Regions from separate parts of the Homo sapiens genome. Here regions 1 and 3 are each linked to region 2. The links are contacts of gene promoters, found by promoter capture Hi-C in human tissues and cell types (Jung and others, 2019). All regions are on one chromosome and are shown on one strand. The core of a region is centred on a gene start or on the middle of the fragment in contact, and the rest is flanking DNA. Distances in the headings are between cores, read along the strand shown.

Region 1 (2,700 bases), core at 197-2,696, 1.2 Mb after region 2:
CAAGTGAACCTCCCACCTCAGCCTCCTGAGTAGCTGGGACTACAGACATGTGCCACCAGGCCAAGCTTTTTTTTTTTTTTTTTTTTTTTTTTTTGAGACGGAGTCTCGCTCTGTCGTCCAGGCTGGAGTGCAGTGGCACGATCTCGGCTCATTGCAAGCTCCACCTCCTGGGTTCACGCCATTCTCCTGCCTCAGCCTCCCAAGTAGCTGGGACTACAGGCGCCCACCACCACGCCCGGCTAATTTTTTGTATTTGTTTTAGTAGAGACAGGGTTTCACTTTGTTAGCCAGGATGGTCTCGATCTCCTGACCTCGTGATCTGCCCGCCTTGGCCTCCAAAGTGCTGGGATTACAGGCATAAGCCACCGCGCCTGGCCTTTTTTTTTTTTTTTTTTAAGACACATTTATTCAGCGTCATGATCAGACTGTTACATTTAGCAATCAACAGCATGGGTACAAAAAAGAAATCTACATTAAAATCCTTTGTTGGAATGCTTTACATTTTCCACAGAAGAAAAACTAAAACAACCTGTTATACAATTAGTCACAAATACAGTCCTCGAGTTTTTTGCCCATACACATGAGTATTTGTCTAAAACATGTCTTCTTTGTAGCAGCTAGGCCTTGCCACCACTGTGCTTGGCTGAGTTCACAAATCTGTTGTAACCTGTAGCTTCGCTGTCACTTCTCTGGCTCTCCTCTCCTGTTAAGCTTTGTTTGCTGGCAGTAATTAAAATCTTCTGCCACTGCTGTAGCTACTGCTGCTACTGGAACTGCCATAGCCACCTCGGTTTTGTGGTTTGGGAAAGTACTGGCTTCCACCACCATAGCTGCCAGAGCTTCTGCCTCCAAAGTTTCCTTTCATCATGGGTTCAAAATTTGAAGACTGATTGTTGTAATTGCCAGAATCATTGTAGCTTCCACCACCCTCCAAAATTGCTTCCATCAGTACCAAATCCATTATAGCCATCCCTACTGCCACCATATCCACCACCACCATGGTTGCCACCAAAGGCACCACAACCACTGAAGTTTCCTCCATGACCAAAGTTGTCATTCCTACCGAAGTCACCTTCACGACCACCACCAAAGTTTCCAGAACCACTTCGACCTCTTTCGCTGGATGAAGTATTAGCCATCTCTTGCTTTGACAGAGCTTTCCTAACTTCACAATTGTGGCCATTCACAGTATGGTGTTTTTGAATGACAGTCTTATCCACGGAGTCGTGGCCATCAAAGGTTACAAAGGCAAGTCCCCTTTTCTTGCCACTGCCTCGGTCAGTCGTGATTTCAATCACTTCAGTTTTTCCACGCTGTTCAAAATAATCTCGCAGGTGATGTTCTTCAGTGTCTTCTTTAATGCCACCAACAAATATCTTTTTCACAGTTAAGTGGGCACCTGGTCTTTGAGAATCTTCTCTTGAGACAGCTCTCTTTGGTTCCACAACTCCGATCCACCTTGTGTGGCCTTGCATTCATGGCTGCATCCACCTCCTCCACAGTGGCATAGGTGACAAACCCAAAACCCCCGGAACGCTTGGTGTTGGAATCTTTCATTACCACACAGTCTGGGAGCGTTCCCCATTGCTCACAATGGCTCCTCTTGCTCTCATTGGTTGTTTCAAAGCTCAACCCTCCAATGAAGAGATTCCTTAGCTGTTCCGGCTCTTTAGGAGACTCTGACTTAGGACGGCAGGGAGAAGAGAGACTTTAACGATGCTTCCTTGGCGTGTCCACAGGCAGAAAGGAGTAAGCTGACAAACATAGCATGATATTTCTTAATTCAAGATTATTTTGAACTGAATCCCATCTGTATTCTTATTGCTTCTCCTACTTTGGAAACTATCAGGTATATGATTTTGAAATTAATTTTATGATAAGCAGCTAATGTATATTATTTTAATTAATAGGATCAGCTGAGAAAAGCTGCTCTAGATAATGTTTTAATTCATCAGCATGTTCAAATACATACATTTCAATTCTATATCTGTTCACATTCTGTGTATTAGAAGTTATTTTAGATTTTTAAGTTTACCCATTTTATGAGCTAATTATTAATTGGGTAACCTTTGGTTCATAGTATTGATATTTCATAATTGGCCTAGAGACACTTTTTAAAAGACTGAGCTTTTCCAGTATATATCACAAGTTACAAAACATTCATAGTCTTTGACTTAGTAATCTACTTCTAGAAATATTTTCACATTTATATAGGAAAATGTTTATGAGATTATTTATAATAATGGAATATTGTAAACAGCTTCCATTTCTAAAAATGGGAGAATAGGTGGTACCACCATATGCTATAATATAATGCAAGTGTTTAAATCATGTGTTAAAAGAATATTAATCATTTATTCCATCAGTATGTGTAAGTAACTATGTCGGGCCCTTTGTTAGGTGCTGGGGATATTTCAGAGAGGAAAGAGTGTTCCTGAAGAACAGGGGCTGGGAAGTAGAAAAGGTATAGCTGCTCTACCTGGGATAGAGAATTGGTAGGTCCGGTGGGTCCATTCTGAAAGAGAGTCTGAGGAGTCCTTTTGATTTAGCCAGCTAGCATGAAACCCCTGCTGTGTTCTAGGCTCTAAGAGAATACAAAATGGATGAGGCTATTTTTCCCTTTATGTAATTCACAGCTGAATGAGAGAGTGTGGGGAAGGAGGTGGTGAGGGTAGTTACAGAAAAAAGTGAAACTGTAAG
Region 2 (2,700 bases), core at 85-2,584:
TCCCGTGGTGCTTTTATAAAGCAAATAATAAATTCCCAATTATTAGGTTTCTTATAATTTAACTGAAAATGCTGACACAATCTCTGAACTAAGCATGCAGTTATCCCAGAAACCCTGCTACTGTTCCAGTAGCCCCAAAGACCTCAGTCTGATCCTTTCTTAGCCTGTAGACAGGCCTGTTAAACAGCTGTAACTCAAAGAGCAGGCTCCAGAGATCCCTGGAGACCATCCTGTGGTGAGTGGATAGAGCGAAGGCATTTGGGAAGCTGTGCAGGCCTGAGAAACCACAGGCGAGAAAAGGAGAGGACTCATCAAGCTGCTCTGGCCCTAAAATGGGCCTCCTGTCTCCCTGACAGGCTCTCCTGCACTCTGACACTTATGTTGGGCGACACCTGTCAGAGTTGAGGCCAAACTGCGGTCGAGTCACTGAGAGTGTCACCAGTGCAGGGAACTTCACGGGGTCATGAGTCACCTTCCATGGCTCAGAGGTCTGGGCAGCCCTGCCCCACCCAAACTCAGGAAAGAGAGACAAGAGGCAAAAACAAAGTTGGCAGAAAGAGAGAAACAGACAGATGGCCAAAAAGCCAGACTGACAGGCCCTGAATTAGAGTAAGGGCTGAGTGGCAGAGACAGGGTGAACAGACACAGAAGCAAGGTGGAGACAGATATAAAACAGGATCCAGATACCCCGACAAAGACAAAGTGGAGAGAAATATCAGGTTGACAGCGACCTAGCTGAAAGACAAAAAGGGCAGGTTACAACAGGTGACAGAGACAGCAACAGGGGATGCTGAATGTTTTACTTAAACAGAAGATCAGCTAAGTCCAGGCGCAGTCTTTCTCCCAGCTCGGCTCGTCAGGCCTCAGGCATTGGTGGCTCGAACCCGAGGTCGTCAAGCCGCGCCCACCCTACGCCCCGAAAGGCCAGCGGACGGACGGGGGCGGGATCTCTAAGCGCTGTGGCCGGCGGAGCTCCGCCGCCGCGAGGGTGACCTTGGGCGAGAAGCTGCCCCAAAGGCCTCGGTATCGCGGTCTGCGCGCCGTGTGGGCAGAAGACTGCGGGATTCGGAGCTGGAGCGCCGGGACCCCAACCTCCCGCGCGGGGCTTTGGTATGCCGGTCCACGGAATGGGCCTGGCGGGGCCAGCGGCGCGAGCGTCGGGGCCTGCTGAGGAGCCCTTAACTCCCCCACCGACTTCTCCTCCCCTACCCTTGCCGCCCGTGGTCCTGGCCACGCAGTACCTGCCAAGGGCTCAGCGCTCACATCCCCCGCCCAAGATATCCTCTCTGCCGCCGGCGCAGGCCTGTTGTAGCCTCAGCTGCCGCAACAGATTCAGCCTGTGCCTTCAGCCCCCGGAAACGCTTCCCGGTCCCGCCCCCCGAAACTGACAGTGCTTCCGGGGGTGCGTCAGAGAGAAAGCGGAGTGCGCATGCGGGACTTACCGTCTGAGCTGGGCGTCGGGAGAGAGCGCGGAGGTAGCGGGCGCCTGCGCAGTACACTCTGGAGCGGGTCAATTTTAGGGACTGACTACGCTGTTGAAAATAGGGGAGCAGATACTGAGTTCTAAACCTTCTTGAAACCTTGGCATAGGCCAGGCGCGGTAGCCCACGTCTGTAATCCCTGCACTTTGGGAGGCCGAGAGGGGATGATCGCTTGAGGCTAGGAGTTCGAGACCATCCTGGCCAACATGGTGAAACCCTGTCTCTACAAAACATACAAAAATTAGCTGAGCGTGGTTGCGCGCGCCTGTAATCCCAGCTACTTGGGAAGCTGAGACAGGAGAATTGCCTGAACCCGTGAGGCAGAGGTTGCAGTGAGCCGAGATCACGCCGCTGCACTCCAGCCTGAGCACAGAGCAAGACTCTTAAACAACAACAACAACAACAACAAAACAAACAAAAACACCTTGACCTTCTCCGTCTCTTCTCTAAACAAACGAACGAAAACCTTGACCTCAGTATGCCTGGCGGAGATTATCTCCAAATCCGTTTCTGCCTTCACAGCACCCATCTCGCTTTTTGGCATGTAGTAGATGCTCAGTAAATGGTCAATGAAAGGACCAGTGCCTTTCCGTGGGCTGCATTGTGCTGGGCACTGGGGTCACACAGATGGTGGGACAGAAACGATCTCTCTAGCCTCCAATTCTCCCACTCCCTCCCAAAACCTCCATACCTCTTCTCGCCCCTTTCTTCCCCACTGCCCCCCCATGTTAGTGTAGAAGAGAGATAGGTCTTTAGCGGTGGGACTCTTACCTTTGGACCCGTTTACAGACCAAGTGCCCTCTTTGTAGAAGAACTAATTTATACCTGAAATCCAGGCAGCTGAAGCGATGTGGTCATAATGCCTTCTGGATTTAGGGTGGATGTTCTCGTGGGGCCTGACATGCCTGTTTGATATTGTCTGTCTCAGTTTAAGCTGATTGGTTTCCCAGCTGTTATGCCTGTCTTGCTTGTTGTTGGGCCCTAGGACACAGGAGTGTAGCTTTCCTAGAGAATTCTACCAAAAAAATTTTTTTTTCTAGAAAACAAAATGAAAGAAAACAAATATGGAAGCACAGAAATGGGAGTGGATGCAGAACAGCTTGTCAAAGATTCTACTTCAAACATGTATGCTCCAGCTCCCCCGCCTTGTGGTTTTGTTTTGTTTTGTTTTGTTTTTTTTTGGAGACGAATTCTTGCTCTGTTGCCCAGGCTGGAATGC
Region 3 (2,700 bases), core at 125-2,624, 1.2 Mb after region 2:
TAAGTATTTTAAATGTGTAAGAATTACCCCTTGGCAGAGACTTACAGACTTTTAAAAAGATTTATTTTATTTTGAGATAGGGTCTCTGTTGCCCAGGCTGGAGTGCAGTGGCATGATCATGGCTCACTGTGGCTTAGGTCTCCCAGGCTCAAGCAATCTTTCCAACTCAGTCTCAGTAGTAGCTAGGACGCTAGGCACTTGCCACCACGCCTGGCTAATTAAAAAAAAATTTTGTAGCAACAGGATCTCCTTTTGTTGCCTCCGCTGGTCTCAGATTCCAAGGCTTAAGCGATCCTTCTGTCTCATCCTCTCAAGTTCTGAGATTACAGGCATGTGCCATTGTGCCCGATCTACAAACATTTTGGCCATGAATCATATGTAATAAGAAATACATTTTGGGGTATAACATGAAAGTTTTGATCTATGCATACATTGTGGAATGATTACATTAATTTAATTAAAATATCTGTCACTTCACACACACACAAATAGAAACACATAACATGCATATTAAGTGCACATATAGATAAATGATATATGGAAACTATTTTCATAGAAAAATACTTAACCTTTACTAAGTACAAATGCATGCTATTTTTTATTCTAATCAATTCTATTTTATTTAATTTTAAAAGAAAAGATTGGTTGAAATTGGCTAAATTGATTTCCTAGCCCTCAGGACCATGGTTTGAAAACTTTGTTAGGGAATACATGCAGATGGACTTACAGGGTCATGGGATCTATGTGCAGCTTCAGCTTATAGATAATGCCAAACTGTCTTACAAAGTGGTTATTCCCATGTGTGCCCCTCCAGCAGTGCGTCAGTGTTGTGCTCCCACATCAGACTTAGTTTTTTCTAGTCTTATGGGTGTGAAATTGTATCTCATTATGATTTTCATTTGCATTTCTCAGAATATAATTGAAATTGAACATCTTTTTGTGTGTTTATTGGTTATTCATGTTTCCTCTTCTGTGTGAACTACTTGTTCTAATCTTTTTTCTATTTTAATCAATTTCTTCCTGATTTGAAGAAGAAATTTGAATGTATGTTTGGATACTAACCATTTTTATGTATTGGGTAGCAACTGTTGTAGATTCTCCTGGTTTGTGACTTGTCTTCATTCTCTTTTTGGTGCTTTTTAATGAACAGAAATTCTTGTTTTTAATGTATTGAATTATCAGTCTTTTGCTTCATTATTGCTTTTTGTGTTCTAAGAAATCTTTACCCTCAAGATTATAAAGTTATTTTCCCAAATTGTATTTAAAGTTTTTATAGTTAAATAATTAATCCATCTGGAACTGATTTTTTGCATGTGTGGTAGTGAGGTAGAGGTCTGATTTCTGTTTTTTTCTGTGTGGTTAATCAGTTGTTGTGGCATTATTTATTGAGTCCCACCTTTCCCCATTGGTTTGTCATGCTCGCTTGGTCATATATCAAATTTCCCTATGTTTGTGCTGCTCTTCCTGGACTTTTCTGTTTCAATTGTTTATTTGGTTTTTCCTGTGCTAATATCACACTATTTTAATTACTTTAAATGTAAAGCAATTTCTGGTAACTGATAAATCATGCTCCTTCAACCTCCTTTTCTCTTTTCTTTTCTTTTTTTTTTTTTTCTGAGACGGAGTCCCACTCTGTTGCCCAGGCTGGAGTGCAGCAGCGTGATCTTGGCTCACTGCAACATCCGCCTCTGCAACATCAAGTGATTCTCGTGCCTCAGCCTCCTGAGTAGCTGGGATTACAGGCATGCACCACTACACCTGGCTAATTTTTGTATTTTTAGTAGAGATGGGGTTTCGCCATGTTGGCCAGGCTGATCTTGAACTCCTGACCTCAAGTTATCCACTCACCTTGGCCTCCCAGAGTGCTGGGATTACAGACATGAACCACTGTGCCAGGCCTCAACCTCCTTTTTGTTATTTGTGAGTGTCTTGTATATTCTTAACCTATTGCCCTGCTACACAATGGCTGATTTTTTTTTTTTTTTTTTTTTGTATTTTTAGTAGAGGTGGGGTTTTGCCATGTTGGCCAGGCTGGTCTTGAACTCCTGACCTCAGGTGATCCACCCACCTCGGCCTTCCAAAGTGCTGGGATTACAGGTGTGAACCACCATGCCCAGCCCCTTCCATATATACATTTTTAAAATCACTTGTCAAGTTAAAAAAAATTCCTGAGATTTTGATTAGAGTTGGATTAAATTTGTAGATCAATTTGGGAGAATTGGCATCTTTACCATTTTGAACATGATATATCATTTAAGTGACCTATAATATCTTTAGTAAAATTTTATCATTTTCTCCATGGAAGTCATATATATATATAGTTTGTCATTGTTGTTAGATTGATTCACATATACCTATTATTAAATATATTTTTAAATTCTACTTTCAAGATTTTATTTAAATTATAGTGTCTTCCGGTTTGTTGCTGGTATATAGAAATGTAGTTGATTTCTTTGACATTGATTTAATGTCAGTAACCTTAATAAACTCCTATAACTTCCATTAACTTATACCTTTTTTGGTTTTCTGTGTAGTTGGTCATTTGCAAATAATGATAGTTTTATTTCTAATCCTTATACTTTATTTTTCTTGCTTTACAGAGCTGAAAATTTAAAAAATTCTTTTTATTGCTTCACAATACCATGTTGAAAAGAAATTGTCTTGCTTCTGATATCAAAGGAAATGTTTCCAATATTTCAC

What was found. Contacts are between HindIII fragments. The study calls those that stand out against the background at their distance.
Region 1: a fragment that was not itself captured here is called in contact with the fragment with the promoter of ZBTB43 in region 2 in 1 of the 25 tissues and cell types used here (dorsolateral prefrontal cortex).
Region 3: a fragment that was not itself captured here is called in contact with the fragment with the promoter of ZBTB43 in region 2 in 1 of the 25 tissues and cell types used here (dorsolateral prefrontal cortex).

The regions. Positions count from the first base shown.
Region 1 is chr9:125,594,659-125,597,358 of GRCh38, reverse strand. All of the region lies in intron 4 of MAPKAP1 (MAPK associated protein 1), which reads left to right. It also overlaps the pseudogene HNRNPA1P15. Among named protein-coding and RNA genes, the nearest start is that of MAPKAP1, 110 kb to the left of the region's middle. The HindIII fragment of the contact is 3,866 bases long and covers 1-2,700 here.
Region 2 is chr9:126,803,674-126,806,373 of GRCh38, reverse strand. It overlaps ZBTB43 (zinc finger and BTB domain containing 43), which reads right to left and starts at 1,334. Exons shown (of 3, transcript NM_014007.4): 1 at 1,242-1,334. RefSeq lists enhancers at 160-309, 460-569, 980-1,039, 1,107-1,608 and a silencer at 1,670-1,719. The HindIII fragment of the contact is 16,594 bases long and covers 1-2,700 here.
Region 3 is chr9:125,614,830-125,617,529 of GRCh38, reverse strand. All of the region lies in intron 4 of MAPKAP1 (MAPK associated protein 1), which reads left to right. Among named protein-coding and RNA genes, the nearest start is that of MAPKAP1, 91 kb to the left of the region's middle. The HindIII fragment of the contact is 4,194 bases long and covers 1-2,700 here.